Regions from separate parts of the Homo sapiens genome. Here all the other regions are linked to region 4. Evidence: promoter capture Hi-C in 16 types of primary human blood cells and fetal thymus (Javierre and others, 2016). All regions are on one chromosome and are shown on one strand. Each heading gives the region's core, a stretch centred on a gene start or on the middle of the fragment in contact. The rest is flanking DNA. Distances are from core to core; before and after follow the strand shown.

The links. The method cuts DNA at HindIII sites, captures the fragments that hold promoters and counts their contacts. A CHiCAGO score of 5 or more calls a contact.
Region 1: a fragment that was not itself captured here is called in contact with the fragment with the promoter of GAB2 in region 4 in 1 of 17 cell types (neutrophils); the score reaches 6.1 in neutrophils.
Region 2: a fragment that was not itself captured here is called in contact with the fragment with the promoter of GAB2 in region 4 in 1 of 17 cell types (activated CD4 T cells); the score reaches 5.0 in activated CD4 T cells.
Region 3: a fragment that was not itself captured here is called in contact with the fragment with the promoter of GAB2 in region 4 in 7 of 17 cell types (activated CD4 T cells, non-activated CD4 T cells, naive CD4 T cells and 4 more); the score reaches 7.8 in activated CD4 T cells.
Region 5: a contact is called between the fragment with the promoter of KCTD14 here and the fragment with the promoter of GAB2 in region 4, in 10 of 17 cell types (naive CD8 T cells, erythroblasts, non-activated CD4 T cells and 7 more). The highest score is 10.5, in naive CD8 T cells.
Region 6: a contact is called between a fragment that was not itself captured here and the fragment with the promoter of GAB2 in region 4, in 13 of 17 cell types (naive CD4 T cells, non-activated CD4 T cells, activated CD4 T cells and 10 more). The highest score is 11.9, in naive CD4 T cells.

The regions. Positions count from the first base shown.
Region 1 is chr11:78,104,474-78,107,687 of GRCh38, forward strand. It overlaps ALG8 (ALG8 alpha-1,3-glucosyltransferase), which reads right to left. Exons shown (of 13, transcript NM_024079.5): 10 at 2,334-2,473. Among named protein-coding and RNA genes, the nearest start is that of NDUFC2-KCTD14, 26 kb to the left of the region's middle. RefSeq lists a silencer at 430-724. The HindIII fragment of the contact is 7,219 bases long and covers 1-3,214 here.
Region 2 is chr11:77,988,737-77,991,903 of GRCh38, forward strand. INTS4 (integrator complex subunit 4) reads right to left here. Exons shown (of 23, transcript NM_033547.4): 2 at 2,372-2,563. Among named protein-coding and RNA genes, the nearest start is that of INTS4, 4.3 kb to the right of the region's middle. The HindIII fragment of the contact is 1,414 bases long and covers 856-2,269 here.
Region 3 is chr11:78,046,500-78,049,496 of GRCh38, forward strand. The region is part of intron 1 of NDUFC2-KCTD14 (NDUFC2-KCTD14 readthrough); the gene reads right to left. Among named protein-coding and RNA genes, the nearest start is that of THRSP, 16 kb to the right of the region's middle. The HindIII fragment of the contact is 2,295 bases long and covers 359-2,653 here.
Region 4 is chr11:78,416,484-78,419,366 of GRCh38, forward strand. It overlaps GAB2 (GRB2 associated binding protein 2), which reads right to left and starts at 1,337. Exons shown (of 10, transcript NM_080491.3): 1 at 1,163-1,337. The coding sequence starts at 1,237. RefSeq lists silencers at 1-234, 697-826, 897-996, 1,107-1,726 and an enhancer at 323-1,077. The HindIII fragment of the contact is 5,597 bases long and covers 1-2,883 here.
Region 5 is chr11:78,021,929-78,024,941 of GRCh38, forward strand. KCTD14 (potassium channel tetramerization domain containing 14) reads right to left here and starts at 1,348. Exons shown (of 2, transcript NM_023930.4): 1 at 1,232-1,348. The coding sequence starts at 1,321. The region is part of intron 2 of NDUFC2-KCTD14 (NDUFC2-KCTD14 readthrough); the gene reads right to left. It overlaps LOC124902723 (a long non-coding RNA gene), which reads left to right and starts at 615. Exons shown (of 2, transcript XR_007062795.1): 1 at 615-1,093; 2 at 1,606-1,794. RefSeq lists enhancers at 137-704, 705-1,274, 1,275-1,842. The HindIII fragment of the contact is 5,224 bases long and covers 1-3,013 here.
Region 6 is chr11:78,148,734-78,151,887 of GRCh38, forward strand. It overlaps KCTD21-AS1 (KCTD21 antisense RNA 1), which reads left to right. Exons shown (of 3, transcript NR_102281.1): 2 at 244-360. Among named protein-coding and RNA genes, the nearest start is that of KCTD21-AS1, 11 kb to the left of the region's middle. The HindIII fragment of the contact is 9,693 bases long and covers 1-3,154 here.

The DNA.
Region 1 (3,214 bases), core at 537-3,036, 310 kb before region 4:
TTAAAACAACAACTGTTATTACACTTGCAAATAGCTTAAATAAACTGCATCTCCTATTACATTAGAACTGGCTGAGGCATAGAAGAACATGCTGATTTTGGCACAAGTTCAATTTAGTTGAGAATATTAATTTTTTAGTAGGAAATTTTAAGCAATCAATAGCATGTATCAAACTGAATCAGGGGTATCGTAAAAGAATCTTGCTTCTGGCCGGGGACAGTGGCTCATGCCTTTAATCCCAGCACTTTGGGAGGCCGAGGCGGGAGGATCACCTGAGGTCAGGAATTCAAGAGCAGCCTGGCCAACATGGTGAAACCCTGTCTCTGCTAAAAATACAAAAATTAGCTGGGCATGGTGGCGGGTGCTTGTAATCCCAGCTACTCAGGAGGCTGAGGCAGGAGAATTGCTTGAACCTGGGAGGCAGAGGATGCAGTGAGCCGAGATCGCGCCACTGCACTCCAGCCTGGGCAACAGAGCGAGACTCTGTCTCAAAAAAAAAAAAAAAAGAATCTTGCTTCCCTGAGTAATTGCCTTCTCCAAAGACAGGAATGTTGTGGGATTGGGAGCTGCCTAGTGGTGGCAGTCAGGGAAACAGGACTTGGAGTTTCATTTCCAACCCTATAGCTCATCTCTTGGACAATGCCCTTCACCTGCTGGTGTTTGGTGTGAATTCAGACTAAAGACATTAAAAGTTTTTGCTTTACTTTTTAATTTGGAAACTCCAAGCTGCTAAATAAACCCAGACAAGCCACATACTGGCCTGACAAATTTGCTTAATATATGTTCAGAGCTTAAATGATTTCTCAAGATTCAAGAAAAATATAAAGAAAGAGGCTATTATTACCATTTATTTATCTATTGGGTTTCAACTATGCCTAAACTGGACACTTACATTTAAAATGGTTTTTTTAGCATGGCATAGTGAAAAGATCATAGATTCAACATCATAAGATTCAGGTCCTAACTCTAATTCTTGCGACCTGTATGACTTTGGACAAGTCACAAACATTTTGAGCCCTAGATTCTTCAGATGTTAAGACAGGGAATAAGCCTGTTTTGTTGGCTCACATCTGCAATCCCAGCACTTTGGGAGGCTGAGGTAGGAAGACTGCTTGTGCCCAGTAGTTTGAGACCAGCCTAGGCAACATGGCAAGACCCTGTCTCTACCAAAAAGTAAAAAAAAAAAAAAGAAAGGAAAAAAAAGGGAATAATACCCATTTATTTTAACTATCTTTTTTTTTTTTCTTTTTTTGAGACAGGGTCTCACTCTATTGCCCCAGGCTGGAGTGCAGTGGCGCCATCTTGGCTCACTGCAACCTTCACCTCCCAGGTTCAAAGGATCTTCATGCCTCAGCCTCCCAAGTAGCTGGGATTACAGGCATGCACCACCATGCCTGGCTAATTTTTGTATTTTTAGTAGAGATGGGATTTTGCCATGTTGGCCAGGCTGATCTCAAACTCCTGGCATCAAGTGAACCACCGCTTCAGCCTCCGAAAGTACTGGGATTGCAGATGTGAGCCACCATGCCTGGCCAATTATCTTAAAGATTATTGTGAGGCGCAAAAGAAAGAATGCAAAACAAAAACAGTTCTGGAAAATCTGAAATGTAGTACAGTATCAGGTATTATTCCAGAATAGACTAAATCCTTACTTTGACTAACAACACTTAACAAGGAACCATGGGACCTTATTTTCAGACGGGATGACACCAAAGCCCAAGTTTTTTCTTTTTTTCATTTTTGAGACAGAGTCTCCTTCGGTCACCCAGAATGGAATGCAGTGGTGCGATCTCGGCTCACTGCAACCTCTTCCTCCCGGGTTCAAGCAATTCTCCTGCCTCAGCCTCCCGAGTAGCTGGGACTACAGGCATGTGCCACTATGCCCAGCTAATTTTTTGTATTTTTAGTAGAGATGGGGTTTCACCATGTTAGCCAGGATAGTCTCGATCTCCTGACCTCGTGATCTGCCCGCCTTGGCCTCCCTAAGTGCTGGGATTACAGGCGTGAGCTACCGCGCCCGGCCAGCCCAGGTTTTTTCTATAACATACTGTCCCTCAATGATCAGATCTAAAAGCCGGCTTTCATGGTACTTAATCACTACAGTGCTTCTTTCCAAAAACGCAGAAACAGAAATAGTACATGCATTTTTGCATACCTTCATGGGTCCAAGAATCTCAAGTTAAGCATCCCTGTCCTGTCCTAGTGGACATCTGTTCCTATACATCTTTGTTTTTGCCTATCCTGGTGAACATGACAAGAAGGGACAGAGCAAATAGAAAATAGGATCATTGTGAAATATGCCAAAATGCTCACTGGCTGAGCTATCTGCTTACCTCATTGGGAGAATTGCTAGAAGTATGGCTTTTTCATGAACATGCCACCCAAACATAAAGGAGCTCAAGGCACAAAGAGTTAGACATCGGAGAAAGCCTCTGGGCCCTTGGGGTTTAAACCAAAGACAGAAAATAGAGGGCTAGAAACAACAGGCAAAGATAAACTTCAGTATCATTTGAAACAGACTTTACAGAAACAGAGTTCAGGTGAATACAATTTGCATCATCTCTGAAAGACAGCCAATCTTAGACAATTCTTCATGAAACCGAATCATTCATCACTTTGTGCACAGTCTAACAAAAGTTAACATAAAAGCAACAACTCAGAAAAAATTGGCATTTGATGTGTATATATATATTTTTATATGTAAATAAATATATTTTATATGTAAATATATATATATATATATATATATAATTTTTTGTTTTTTTGAGACGGAGTCTCGCTTTGTTGCCAAGGCTGGAGTGCAGTGGTGCGATCTCGGCTCACTGCAACCTCCACCTCCTGGGTTCAAGCGATTTTCCTGCCTCAACCTCCCAAGTAGCTGGGATTACAGGTGCCTGCCACCACGCCCAGCTAATTTTTGTATTTTTAATAGAGACGGGGTTTCACCATGTTGGCCAGGCTGGTCTCAAAATCCTGACCTCGTGATCTGCCTGCCTTGGCCTCCCAAAGTGCTGGGATTACAGGTTTGAGCCACCGCACCTAGCCTTGATGTATATATTTAACTCATTAAAATTAATTCTACTGGCTGGGCATGGTGGCTCATGCCTATAATCCCAGCACTTTGGGAGGCCAAGGCAGGCAGATCACTTGAGGTTAGGAGTTCAAGAACAGCCTGACCAACATAGTGAAACCCCATCTCTACTAAAAATACAAA
Region 2 (3,167 bases), core at 313-2,812, 430 kb before region 4:
AGCCTATAGATCTAACTTTCAGTTCATAGTAAATACAGAGAACAGAGGAACAAGTTAATCCTTAAAGAAGTAAATGAATTCAGAAAACAAGACATTTTACAAAAGAACTGTCTCAGTTTCTTCATCAAATCAATGTCACCAAAATAGTAACTGTTGTAGATTTTTGAAAAGACTGAATGCCATGTGGGGACCTGGTTTGCATTTTGATTTGAATACATCAACTATAAAAAGGTACTGGGAGAACAACTACAGAAATCTAAATATCAACTAATTCTTAGATGACATTAAAGAATTACTTAACTTTATTCATTAGGGTTAGGTGGCTATGTTAAAAAATAAAAAGTCCCTCTACTTTCTCATAGCAGTGAGAAAAAAAAAGAAAACAACAAAAAGGTATCCCTTTTTAATAGATATGTAATGAAATAATTAGAAAAAAATGACATATCTTTTTAAAAATTCAACAAAACAAGGCTGGGCGCGGTGGCTCACACCTGTAATCCCAGCACTTTGGGAGGCCGAGGCAGGTGGATCACCCGAGGTCTGGAATTCGAGACTAGCCTGGCCAACATGGTGAAACCCCATCTCTACTAAAAATACAGAATTAGCTGAGCGTGATGGCGCACTCCTGTAGTCCCAGCTACTTGGGAGGCTGAGGCAGGAGAACTGCTTGAACCCAGGAGTGCTATTACACTCCAGCCTGGGCAACAGAGTGAGACTCATCTCAAAAAAAATAATAACAAAATAAAATAAAATTCAGCGAAAAAATAGAGCAAATTTGGCAAAATACTAATAACTGTTAAATTCTAGGAATGGATATTTGGTAGGTCACTATAGTATTTTATCTACTTTTCCATAAGCTTAACAATTTGGGGGCTGAGTGTGGTGGTTCACACCTGTAATCTCAGCAATTTGGAAGCCCAAGGAGGGTGGATTGCTTGAGCCCAGGAATTCGAGATCAGCCTGTGCAACATAGCAAAGCCCTGTCTCTACAAAAAAAAAAAAAAAATACAAAAATTAGCCAGGCATGCTGCACATGCCTGTAGTCCCAGCTACTCAGAAGGCTGAGGCAGGAGGATCAATTGAGCCTCGGAGGTCGAGGGTACAGTGAGCCGTGATAGCACCACTGCACTCCCGCCTGGGCGAGAAAGCAAGACCCCATCTCAAAAATAATAATAGTAATAATAATAATGATTTTTGGGCTGGGAATGGTAGCTCACGCTTGCAATCCCAGCACTTTGGGAGGCCAGGGTGCATGGATCACTTGAGGTCAGGAGTACAAGACCAGCCTGGCCAACACAGCAAAACCCCACCTCTACTAAAAATACAAAAAAAATTAGCTGGGTGTGGTGTCACACACCTGCGGTCCTAGCCACTCTGGAGGCTGACGCAGGAGAATCACTTAAACCAAAGAGACGGAGGTTGCAGTGAGCCAAGATTGTGCCACCACTATACTCCAGGCTGAGTGACAGACCAAGTCTCAAAAAAAAAAAAAAAAAAAATGCAAAACTTAGCCTGGAGTAGTGGCACGTCTGCAGTCCCACCTACGTGGAAGGCTGAGCCAGGAGAATCACTTAAGCCCAGGAGTTCCAGGCTACAGTGACCTATGATGATGCCACTAAACTCTAGGCTGGGTGACAGTGAGCCTCTGTCTCAAAAACAGTTTTTTTGGCCAGACGCAGTGGCTCACGCCTGTAATCCTAACACTTTGGGAGGCCAAGGTGGCTGCATCACTTAAAGTCAGGAGTTCGAGACCAGCCTGGCCAACATGGCAAAACCCCGTCTCTACTAAAAATACAAAAATTAGCAGGGTGTGGTGGCACGTGCCTGTAATCCCAGCTACTAAGGAGGCTGAGGCAGGAGAATCGCTTGAACCCAGGAGGCAGAGGTTGCAGCGAGCCAAGATTGCACTACTGCACTCCAGCATGGGCAACAGAGCGAGACTCTGTCTCCAAAAAAAAAAAAAAAAAAATGTATTTTTAATTAAAAAAGAGGGCCACTGCAATTAGATATGAGGGCCATGAATTAGGAAAGGAACAGCAGGACCACATTCCAGAGATGAATGGGTCATGATTGATATTTACTCCTCTTTTGTGCTTCCACTGTACTCTGCACATACTGCACTCACAGTAACTTCAGCAGTATGATGCACCTTATCATTGACATGTCTTGTTTCCATCTACTATACACAGTATAACTTTCTGAGGTCAAGATCTGTATCTTTTTTATCTCGGTATCCATAGTACCTAGCACTTGGAAGACACTCAATAAAAGCTTCCTAATGAATACCCTATTTATTTGTAATATTAACCATTCTGCAGACATGATACAACTCCCATGATATACTCCCATCAGATCCTCAAGATTTTCTTACCTTGTAATAATGTTCCAAGAGAATCCTGACTACTCCCTCTACGCTTTCCGCCTCGACAGGCTTCCTGGCAAACTGGAGCAAGTATTGCAAAGCATCTGCTGGGGAGGTAGCTTTACACAGATCTATGTGGAGTGCTGCAGATTTACTTGGTTTTGTTAGTCGGAGTTTCTTAGTAGCAATTTCCTCCTGTGGCTGCAAGGGGTAGAGAAAATCGAAAACACAGAATCTGCAAATTTAACTTTGCCTCATTTGGTGGAAATGATTTTCCATTATACCAAATAATATATTTAGCTGATGGACTTAGGAAAATACAGTATTATAAACCAGAAAGAGTACCGGGTTGGTGACAAGGCCATGAGTCTCAATTTTGCCTTTACCAGTTCCTATGACTTTAGGCAAGTCATTTAATTTCTCCGAGTCTCAGTTTATGTCTCTGTAAAATAGGTATACTTTTTTTTTTTCTTAGAGATGGAGTCTCTCTATGTTGCCCAGGCTGGTCTTAACTCCTGGGCTCAAGCAATCCTGGCACCTCAGCCTCCCAAAGTGCTGGGATTACAAGCATGAGCCACGGTGCCCAGCCTTACACTAACATTTTGCTCTACCTATCTCTGAGGATTGTGGTAGCCTTTGGGTTTAGAGGTCACACAAAGGATCTACTCCATTTTTTTGAGACAGAGCAAGACACTGTCGCCCAGGCAGGAGTGCAATGGTGCAATCTTGGCTTGCTGCAATCTCCACCTCCTAGGTTCAAATGATTCTCTGACTGACACCCAACATGCTGGGATTATAGGTGTGT
Region 3 (2,997 bases), core at 256-2,755, 370 kb before region 4:
CCACGATAAGAGGCGCACCTTGCAATGAGAGGAGAGCCTATCCTAAAGGGGAAGGGGGCTGATCTGGCGAAAATGTCAGCGCGGGGGCTGAGGCTGGACTTAAGGGGGCGAGGTTAGGAAGAGGTGAGCAAAGATTTGGAAGTTATGGTGGAGTTTGGGAGAGAGTGCAGGCATGCTGGAGAATCATCAGTATATATGTATGTATGTATCTTGCTATTTCATGCCTCTGAACTTTTGCTGAGGCTTGCATTTATTCCTAGAAAACATTTCTCACTTTTCCTTTTCTGTTGTTATAAGTACTTAATCTATTCAAAAATATTAGATGATGAATATATAAATATTCATGTAGCCATTACTAAGCTTGGGAAATAAGACCTAATGAATATAAAGTACTCATGTACGCTTCCTTTTTTCCCCTCCCTCCACCCAGATGGCTCCTTCAATTTGCTTTTTCATTCCAACGTTTAAGTTTGTGTTTACTACCTGTGTAGGTATAAAGAATATACAGATACATGAAATCATAATTTTGGGGGTTTTTTTGAGACAGCGCATTGCTCTGTAGCCCAGGCTGGAGTGCTGTGGCAATGATCACGGCTAACTGCAGCCTTGACCTCCTGGGCACAAGCAATCCTCCTGCCTCAGCCTCTTGAGTAGCTGGGACCATAGGCGCATGCCACCACACCCAGCTAACTTAAATTTTTTGTAGAGATGGGGTCTCTTTATGCTGCCCAGGTTGCAAAAATATTTTTTAGTAGAGATGGGGCCTCTCACTATGTCACCCATCTTGGTGTCAGACTCGTGGCCTCAAGCAATCCTCCTACCCAGGCCTCCCAAAGTGCTAGGATTACAGCCCACCATACCCAGCCAGAAAAATTTTAATAGGTATATATTTTATTAAATATACTATATCCTGGCCAGGCACGGTGGCTCATGGCTGTAATCCTAGCACTTTTGGAGGCTGAGGTAGGGGCATCACTTGAGGCCAGGAGTTCAAGACCAGCCTGGACAATGTGACGAAACTTATATTTCTTTTTTTTTTTTTTTTTTTGAGACAGAGTCTCGCTCTGTTGCCCAGGCTGGAGTGCAGTGGCACAATCTCAGCTCACTGCAAGCTCCGCCTCCTGGGTTCACGCCATTCTCCTGCCTCAACCTCCCGAGTAGCTAAGACTACAGGCGCCTGCCACCACACCTGGCTAATTTTTTGTATTTTTAGTAGAGACGGGGTTTCACGATGTTAGCCAGGATGGTCTCGATCTTCTGACCTCATGATCCACCTGCCTCGGCCTCCCAAAGTGCTGGGATTACAGGCGTGAGCCACTGTGCCCAGCCAAATTATATTTCTTGTCTCTACAAGAAATAAAAAAATTAGCTGGACTTGGTGGCACATGCCGGTAGTCCCAGCTACTCGGGAAGGCTGAGGTGGGAGAATCCTTTGAGCCTGGGAAGTTGAGGCTACAGCAAGCCGTGATTATGCCACTGTACTCCAGCCTGGGTGACAGAGTGAGATCTTGACTCAAAAAAAACAAAACAGGCCAGGTGCAGTGGCTCATGACTATAATCCCAACACTTTGGGAGGCCGAGGCAGGCAGATCACCTGAGGTCAGGAGTTCCAGACCAGCCTGACCAACATGGTGAAACCCCGTCTCTACTAAAAATACAAAAATTAGCTGGGTGTGATGGCTCACGCCTGTAATCCTAGCTACTCGGGAGGCTGAGGCAGGAGAATCACTTGAACCTAGGAGGCAGAGGTTGCAGTGAGCTGAGATTGCACCACTGCACTCCAGCCTGGGCGACAGAGTGAGACTCCGTTTCAAAACCAAAAACAAACAAAAAAATAAAATAATAAAATAAAAACAAAACAAAAATACAAGGCACCAAAGCAATGTAACAGGCGCCTGCAGTCTGAGCTAATGAGGAAGCTGAAGTGGGAGGATGGTTTGAGCCTTGGAGCTCGAGACCGGCCTAGGCAACATCGCGAGACTTCATCTCAAAAAAGAAAGAAAAAAAATACCATGGCATATAAAAACAAAATTGAAAGGGATGAGTGTAATAGGCACAATAATGGCCCCCAAAGATGCCACCTTCCTAATTCCTGAACCTGTAAATGTTAGGTTACATGGCAAAGGGAAATTAAGGGGGCAGATGGAGTTAAGATTGCTAATCAGCTGACCTTAAGATGGAAAGATTATCCTGAATTATCCAGCAGTACCCAATGTAACTGGAAGAGGGAGAACCAGAGAGGCAGCATGAAAAGGTGTTCCTGGCTTTGAACACAGAGGAAAAGATTACAAGCCAAAGAGTGCGGGCAGCCTCTAGGAGCCAGAAAAGACAAGGAACGAATTCTCCCCAGAGCCTCCAGAAAGGAGGGCAGCCCTGCTGACCCCTTGATTTTACGCTGGTGAGACCCATGTTGGACTTCTGACCTCCAGGATTATAAGGTAATAAGTGTCTGTTGCTTTAAGCCCCTAGGTTTGTGTTCATCTGTTACAACAGCAATACAAAATTAATACAAGGAGCGTGACCGGCAGCGAATCCGTATGGGTCTGCCGCAACCTCAGTTCTTGCCTCCTCAGCAGAAAGAATTCGACTGAGGCACATAAGGCAGAAGGAGAAACCGAGACAAGTCTTAGAGCAGGAGTGAAAGTTTATTAAAAGCTTTAGAGCAGGAAAGGAAAGAAAGTACACTTGGGGCTGAGTGTGGTTGCTCACGCCTGTAATCCCAGCACTTTGGGAGGCTGAAGCGGGTAGATCACGTGAGGTTAGGAGTTCAAGACCAACCTGGCCAACATAGTGAAACCCAGTCTCTAATAAAAACACAAAAATCAACCGGGTGTGGTGGCATGTGCCTGTAATCCCAGCTACTCGGGAGGCTGAGGCAGGATAATCGCCTGAACCTAGGAGGCAGAGGTTGCAGTGAGCCGAGATCGTGCCACTGTACTCCAGCCTGGGTGACAGAGCGAAACTCTGTTGCAAAAAAAAAAAAAAAAAAAAAAGAAA
Region 4 (2,883 bases), core at 87-2,586:
AGCTGACAGAGGGCAGGGTCTATTCCGAGCTCCCTTGATGCACTGCAGCTGGAGGCAACGGCTCCCTTCCAGGCTGTGGGAGTGATCCCGGAGTTCGGCACCACAGCCCGTTAAACAAGGGCATTTCATGGGAAACGGAGAGGGAGCAGATGAGAGACCTTGAAACCTTCCAGCAACCTTACCCCCACTTCCAAACTCCCGCGACTACCCCAAGACCATTTCGGCCAAATCTCAGTAACTGGCACCATCTTGTACTTTGACCTCACCAGGCAAGGCATCCTCTGGGGAGAGGGGTTAAAAAAAAAAAAAAAAAAAGCCAGAACTCCACGGCTCAGCGCCACGCTGTTCCACCTCCCCCAGGCTGCCAGTTCCCCACCTAGAGGGAAAAGGCTGTTCCAGCGATCTCAGTAAACACTGTCGGTTGGCAACACCTGGCCGCGGAGAGCCTCGATCTCTCCCGACCCCAGACACCCGGGAGCTGCCCGGTCCCAAACCCGGGCCAGCCACGGGGACCAAACTGCAGTGTCACACCGGGGTCGGGGGGAGGCGCCTGTGAGAGACGAACGGAATAAAGGGAAAGAAGGGGGACAAACAAATGAGTCACTTAATACAAGGGCTGCACATGCCGCTGACGCTGCCGGTGATGCAGCCGCGGACGGAGGGAGGCCGGCGGCCGGGAGGGGCAGGCGGAGAAAGGGAAGGAGAGGGCGTGAGGCGCTCGCCCTTTGTGGGGCCGTCCGCGCGGCCCCACAGCCTACGCCCCCCTTTCCCGCCCTCTCCCCGACCCTGCGGGCTGAAGCTGCTCGGGGCTGCCGCGGAGCCCCAGCCCCGAGAGTCAACTCTCTCGGTCTCCAGAAGCCATCAATACAAAACTTCGACACTGTATTTAGTTCACGAGCAGACCGGCTTGGGAGGCGCCGCAGCCGCACCCGCCTGGCGGAGCAGGAGCCGCAGCCTCAACCTGCCGCCCGCCCCGCCCCTCGGCGGCCCACCTGTGACAGGTGTGCAGGTGCCCCACACGCCCCCGGCCGCTCCTCGCCCCCGGCCCCCCGCGGCTCCGGGCCCGAGCTCCCCAGCCTGCCGCCCCTCCGGGAGTCCCCCGCCCCTCCGCAGGCCCCGGAGCGCCCCCCGCCCGCCCCTGGGCGGCCGCGCCCGCACTCACATAGCGCCTCAACTTCTTCTCGGGAGGCGATTTCCTCAGCCAGCCGGTGCACACCACGTCGCCGCCGCCGCTCATGCTGCCGGCCTGGAGCCCCCCGCCGGGTCGCGCGGACGAGGGCGCGGGCTCGGGCAGCTGGGGCAGCGGCCGGCGGTGCGCAGCTCGCGGGAGGCCAGGGGCGGGGCGGGCGGCCCGGCGGGGACTAGGCGGCGCGGCGCGGCGCGAGCCCGGCAGCCTCGCGCGCGCCCGCTCCCCCGCCCCGAGCGCGCGCAATCCGCACTCTCCGCCCGGCCGCCGGGGGAGCAGCTGCAGCAGGAAGGCCGGCTCGCTCGCCACGCCCGCTCCCGCCGCGCCCCCGAGGCCGCCGCGCACGCGGACGCGGGGCTAGGGACCCGCGAGGATACAGAAAGCCACCGCCGCCGGCGCGCCCCGGAGTCTCGCTTTCTCCTGAGGCCCCAAGCCGCGGGCGCGGAGGCCAGGGAGGCGACCGCGCCCCTGGCGCTGGCGGGTGTGAGGGGAAGGGACTGCGCGCCCTCGGTCGTCGATCGATTTTTCACCGAGCGTCGACGGGGAAGGGATACTAGGGCTGCTCACATTTCCGATACATTCTGCGGGTCAGGTTCCGGCTGAAAGGAGGGACCCCTTCCCAGCAAGAAGCTCCTTAACTCTGGCGTCCCTCGGCGGGAGGAGGAGACGGACCTACTACGCGCCGGAGCCTTTGCTTTTGTAGCTTACAGGATTGTCTTCAGTATTGTTCCTATTTTATGGACAGCCTAAGGGCAAGGGCTTGTACAAAGCCGAGCCAATTTTCCAATTCAGGTGTGTGGGGGAGGAGGGGTCCCGGTCATCTGCTATTCAAAATGAGGGCATTGCCTTAATGGGATCGACCTGGGAGCCTCTCATTGCCTGGAAACCAAGTCCAGCTGACTCCCTCCTACACTGCCTCTGGGAAAACACAGTTTAGTATAGAAAATTCGCATGATTTGTAGAATGGAAGAAGCAAAACTAGTCAATGTATTTCATAACGAATTGGAAGGCAAGGTCAAGTGCAGAAGAACAAGAAATTGGGGTCCAAATTCCCCAACGTTCCCGCTCATTGACACAGGCTATGAGACCTCTGTTTGTAAATATAATGGTATCCCAGATGTACGTGGAAGCACACAACCCCAGCACTTCAGCGGGAGGGGGGAGAAAAAAATCTTTTGTACGAGCTCTTTTCTCATCACAAAGTGTCTCTCTAAGCAGCATTAAAAGGCAGGTCCTCCCTAACTTCTCTGATAAGTGGATAGTAACCTGTTTATTCAATGGGGAACCGTGCTGTGTGGACAGATGAATTGGAGAAGCAGCATCTTGCAGTGCCCCACACAACCTCAGACTAAAGCTGTTTTGTTTATTTCTGTCTCTGTGCAGCTGAGTTGTTTCAAGCAGTTGGACATCATTTGGTCCAAAAGATCTTGATTGGGTTGGGGGAAGTTCACCCTCCTCAATTTGGAAAAGCGAATCCCCTACCACGTACTTAGCTCTTCTAGATACCCTGGGAGTTTTAGCGGTCAGTCCCCTGGATCTAACATTTCACTGACTTTCTTCAATATCCAGTGTGCTGCTGGATGGGAAGTAAAGCCAGAACTGGTAGGCTGGGACCACAGCTCCCTTAACCTTACAATTTAGGGATCCTTAAGTCACGTATGAAGGGCCACCACCAGAATGATGGCCATTTTAACTTC
Region 5 (3,013 bases), core at 98-2,597, 390 kb before region 4:
CACCTCCAGAAGCTCACTCACTTGGCCATCCGCACTCCTTTCTCTGACCCCACTCATCCTTCAGATGAATTCCTCTGGGAGTCCTTCGGGGTGGGTTGTCTCACTGTGATCCCAGAAAGTCCTACACTACTATACTTCCACTGGCCTGGCAGTTCTTCCCTTGCAATTCCCTGTTTCTTCATTGACTGTGAGGTTCCTGGCCAAGTGCTGTGTTTCATGCCTGTAATCCCAGCACTTTGGGAGGCTGAGGTAGGAGGATTGCCTGAGCCTAAGAGTTTGAGACCAGCCTGGGTCTCACCAACATGGCGAGACCCCATCTCTATTTTAACAAACAAACAAACAAACAAAAACTCTGTGAGGCTCCTAAGGGAGGGGAATATCCTCTGATTTACAGGAGCATCTAGTATTCTGTTCAAGGCCAATCTTGCCCTACCTGGCATCATGCACAGTGCCTTACACTTCCCCAGTAATTCATTCAGGCATTTATGGAACACCTAGGGTGGTCCTGGCACTAGGCATGTGGCTTTGTCAATAGCCAACAACAATGACGTGATCATGGCCCTATTAGAGAGAGCCACGCTGCCCTGCTGCTGGATCTGCTTTCTCTTCCTCCAGGTCTTCAGGATGACTCTCAGTGCAGGAGAGAACCCGAATGTTCTGCTCCCAGAGTGCACGCAGCCTTTTCCCCATCCTCCTCCCCAACTCCCCTCACCCAAGCTGGGGACCAGGCAGGCAAGCAGAGGGATTTGGGACCCAGCCAGAGGGCAGGGGCAGGCTGAAGACCCAGCCAAGGGGCAGGGGCAGGCTGGAGAGGGCTGCAGGTGAGGGAAAGATCCTCTGGCCGAGCTGGTTGGATGGGCTTCTCCCACCGGGAGCAAGGGAGAAGGTGGGGCAGAGGAGGAGTCGTGGGCTAGGACAAGCCGGTGGGGAAGAGACAAGGGAAAGGAACTAAAGACCCAATGTAGAGGGAGGAAGCAAAAGGGCAAAGAGGAAAGGCTGGACAGAGCCAAACCAGAAAGGGACACCGAGGCGCGAAAGGAGAGTGATCCCAGCAGGAGGGACGGCAAAGATTGAAGAGAGCGACCAGCCCGAGGTGAAGGGGGACAGCGCGCCAGAAGCAGGGGGCTCGGGCGTCTGGGAGGGACGGGCAGGAGAAACTGGAAGGGAGGGAAGAGGCGGAGGGAAGAGGCGGAGGACAGAGGCGCGGGGACGCAGCTAGCCTCGCACTTACCGTTGGCCGCCTGGGCCGGGGGGACTGGGGCAGAGGGGTCTGGCTCGTCATCCTGCCCACTGGCCGCTCCACTGCGCAGCCCTGCCACATGCAGATCACTTGGGCCAGCGGAAGTGCCCCTGGCTGCCCGCCCCTAGGTGGGAACACCGAGGCTCAAGGCGGGACGGGGCTGAGCCAGGCGTGGCTTGCAGTGAGACTGGGCCAAGTGCAGAAAGAAATGGACAGTCTGTCTATTTGGGGCTTCTAAAAGTTGTTAGGCCCTGAGAAGGGCTGACTTTGGAGACCGAGAAATGGAGCAGACCCCTTAAGGACTGACCTTTTGATATAGATTAATTTCCTTCCTTTTCTTTCTTTCTTTCTTTTTTTTTTTTCAGAGACAGGGTCTCACTCTATCGCTCAGGCTGAAGTGCAGTGGCGGATCAGGCTCACTGCAACCTCAACCTCCTGGGCTCAAGTGATCCTCCCACCTCAGCCTCCCAAAGTGGTGGGATTACAGGCCTGAGCCACGGCAACTTGCCTCTTCCTATATTTTCTTTTACGCTTAAATAAATTACTTAAACATATTGCTTGAATCCCGTTATTAAAGTTGACATTAGTTAATGCCCCTCTCTGGGCCTCGGAGTTCCCAGTAGTGAAATGGGGGAGGCAGAAGGAATTGACATTGACTGACATTGACAACCAGAGACTTTCTATTCCCTACAGTCCTAGGGAGTGAAAGATCCGCAACACCCATTTTACAGATCAGAAAACTGGCGCTCTAGGAGGTAGGGTGGTGTTAAAATGTAAAGTCTGAGGATCAACAAAACTTTTTTAAGAGTATACTTGAGTAACAGGCAATTCTTGAATCGGGGAACACCAGATGGAAAGAGGTTGAGTGTTCCCATGACAATGCATCAGAGGCAAATATTTATGGGGAGAATATGGAAGCAAGATATTTTGTTGGGGACAGGCATGGTGGCTCACGCCTGTAATCCTAGCACTTTGGGAGGCCAAAGCGGACAGATCATTTGAGGTCAGAAGTTCGAGACCAGCCTGACCAAAATGGTGAAACCCCGTCTCTACTGAAAATACAAAAATTAGCTGGGTGTGATGGCATGTGCCTGTAATCCCAGATACTGTGGACGCTGAGGCAGGAGAATCGCTGGAACCCGGGAGGCAGAGATTGTAGTGAGCTAAGATTGCACCACTGAACTCCAGCCTGGGCAACAAAGATTCCCTCTCAAAAAAAAAAAAAAAAAATATATATATATATACACACACACACACACACACACACACACACACACATATATATATATATACATATATATATATAAAATTGGTTACAGTTAAAAAATCTCCTTTTTTGGTTTCCTTTGTTGAAAAGTCCACAGCTACTTAATTGTATGTTAGTTGGCTGCTTGTGGTTGGCTAATGTTAAGTTTCGTTTCTGTCTAACATTAGCATTTACCAGAAATGACTCTATTAGTCAGGGTTCTACAGAGGGACAGAACTAACGGAATAGGGTTGGACACGGTTGCTCACGCCTGTAATCTCAGCACTTTGGGAGGCCATGGCAGGTGGATCACCTGAGGTTAGGAGTTCGAGACCAGCCTGACTAACATGGCGAAACCCCATCTCTACAAAATACAAAAAATTAGCTGGGCGTGGTGGTGGGCACCTGTAATCCCAGCTACTTGGGAGGCTGAGGCAGAAGAATCGCTTGAACCTAGGAGACGGAGGTTGCAGTGAGCTGAGATCAAGCCATTGCACTCCAGCCTGGGCAACAAGAGTGTAATCCCA
Region 6 (3,154 bases), core at 261-2,760, 270 kb before region 4:
GTTCTCAGGTGATCCTCCCATCTCAGTCTCCTGAGTAGCTGGGACCACAGTTACGTGCCACCACACCTGGCTAATTAAAAAAATTTTTTTTGTAGAGATGGGTCTTGCCATGTTGCCCAGGCTGGTCTTGAACTGCCAACCTCAAGCAATCTTCCCTCCTTGGCCTCCCAAAGTGCTGGGATTACAAGTGTGAGCCACTATGCCTAGCCAACATCTAAGATCTTTTTTTTTTTTTTGAGACAGGGTCTCGCTCTGTATCCCAGGCTGGAGTTCAGTGGCACGATCTCCGCTCGCTGCAACCTCCGCCTCCTGGGTTCAAGTGATTCTCCTGCCTCAGCCTCCCAAGTAGCTGGATTACAGGTGCGTACCACCATGCCTGGCTAATTTTTTGTATTTTTAGTAGAGATGGGGTTTCACCATTTTGGCCAGGCTGGTCTTAAACTCCTGATCTCAAGTGATCTGCCCACCTCGGCCTCCAAAAGTTCTTGGATTATAGGCGTGAGCCACCGCACCTGGCACAACAACTAAGATCTTTCTTCCCGCCTCCCTGCTCCCCCAGAGACAGTCTCGCTCTGTCAACCAGGCTGGAGTGCAGTGGCGCAATCTTGGCTCACTGCAACCTCCACTTTCCAGGTTCAAGTGATCCTCCCGTCTCAGCCTCCCAAGTAGCTGGGATTACAGGCGCGTGCCACCATGCCCAGCTAATTTTTGTATTTTTTTAGAGACAGGGTTTCACCATGTTGGCTAGGCTGGAAAACTAAGATCTTAATTTGAGTGCCAAAGGGTGTCCCACAGCTCCTTTCCTATATTTTGTTATTGGGGCGGGGCCAGGACACACATTTCAGTAATCTTTGCTTTTAAGGGTTATGAGGTAACTTAAAATATGGAAAAAAAAAAAACAGGTATAACACACAGAACCTTAGATTTCATTGTTGCCAAGCTCCATGTGAACTAGGATATGAATAGTAGCAATGATTCAATTATTATTAATAGCATACACTTACTAGATACCAAACACTGGGTGAAGTGTGATACATAAGTCATCTCATTTATGTAAACATTGTGAGGAAATAGAGCACTGGAGAGTTAAGGAACTCACTCGGGTACTCACTGCTGGTAAGTGATGCAGCCAGGATTCAACCCAGCCCATCAGATGGCAGCATCTGCATCTATAACCATTACACTATTTCTTTCTTCAAGCTCCCAATTTGTGTTCTGAGGAGAGACTAAATAAGGAAAAGAAAAAAATGTCTTCCCCTATTTAGCCACCAGACCTTTGCCCATGACTTGGAAGTGTTTGCTGTGGAGTCTCCTATCTTGTCTTTTTTTTTTTTTTTGAGATGGAGTCTCGCTCTGTCTCCCAGGCTGGAGTGCAGTGGCATGATCTCGGCTCACTGCAATCTCCTCCTTCTGGGCCCAAGCGATTCTCCTGCCTCATTCTTCCCAGTAGCTGGGATTATAGGCTTCCGCCCCAACGCCTGGCTAATTTTTGTATTTTTAGTAGAGACAAGGTTTCTCTATTGGTCAGGCTGGTCTGGAACTCCTGACCTCAAGTGATCCTCCCCCTTTGGTATCCCAAAGTGCTGGGATTACAGGCGTGAGCCACTGCACCTAGCCTCCTATCTTGTCTTCATGAGTGTTCAGAATTTTGTGGTGCACTGATCAGAAGCCCAGAGGAATCTAGACTTCATTGAGGTGCACCTTGGTATTTGAATCCCACTCTCTCTTTTTGTTTTTATTTTTTGGTGGAGTGGGAGGGTAGGGGCAGACAGAGTCTCACTCTGTTGCCCAGGCCAAAGTGCAGTGGGCACAGCTCACTGCAGCCTTGACCTCACAGGCTTAAATCATCCTCCCACCTCAGCCTCCGGAGTAGCTAGGACTATAGGTGCACCACCACACCTGGCTAATTTTTGTATTTTTTGTAGAACTGAGGTTTCGCCATGTTGCCCAGGCTGGTCTCAAACTCCTGGGCTCAAGCAATCTGCCCGCCTCGGCCTCCCAAAGTGCTGAGATTACAGTCATGAGCTACTGTGCCCAGCCCAAATTCCTCTTTATCAGCATCAGATCATATCAATATCAATTTTATAAAGACCATTAATATCAACCAGGAGAAGGATGAAAGCAAAATGTTCTAAGAGCAAAGGGACTGCTGATTATCATCAAGTGACCCTATTTCACAGGAAGAAAATGTGGATGACATTTTATGACCAACAGCATTGTTTATTTAACCTTGGAGCACAATAGAGAAAAACTTTTGACTCCAACCCCCAGTCCCTGAAGGCAGAAGTCTGAAATACCCTCTCAATTCTGTTTATGGCCTTAAAGCATTTGTCTTAGCCTATATTCTCCCCAAAGCAGGGCCTGAGACAAAGGCTTATGTGTGAGTAGTTTAATTTGCTGTGCTGATCTCAGGAAGCAGGAGCTATGCTTGCAGAAAATGAAATAGGGAGTGCAAATATAAGGATAAGATATTAACTACTACTGAGGACAACTGATTACTCAAGCATGGGAGACCTTCTGAGAGACCATATAGGATGCATTTAAGGACTGTCTTGCTCAGGGGAAGAGAGGGAGAAAAGGTTATCCATCAGTTTCCCTCTCCCATTGGTCAAGACTGGCCCTAGGGAACATTTATGTTTCCTGTAAATGAGTGCTAAGTGGACTCCCACAGACATCAGGCATGGCAGCTCAAAGAGACTGGAAGGCAGAAAATGAAAGACATGAGACGGGCCTGAGGCCAGGCATTTTCAGGTTACATCTTCATGAAGATGGTCACTGCTGCACAATGGCTGGAATAAGAGGTGAGACTGACAAGATATGAAGTGGGACATGAGAGGTGTTTGACAGAGTCCAACCCTTGCACCATTCAAGCCCACTTAAAATGCCCTTGTGTAAATTTAATTTGTCATACGGTCGTCTTCAGTATGGCAGTTGGCTGCGTTCTCTGCAAACACTTGATAATCCAAGCAAATTAGTGAAACAAGTTATAACACTTGCTGCTACAGTTGATCCCAAAGCTGTAATTGATATTCATTATCTGCTTCTTCTACCACTCAATCTAGATTTCTCTTATTCTCATCTAGCACTTTGGCTGGCCTGGATTTCTTGCTTGGTGGTGGGACTATGACTGTCCCTGAAGTCCTTATGATTGCCT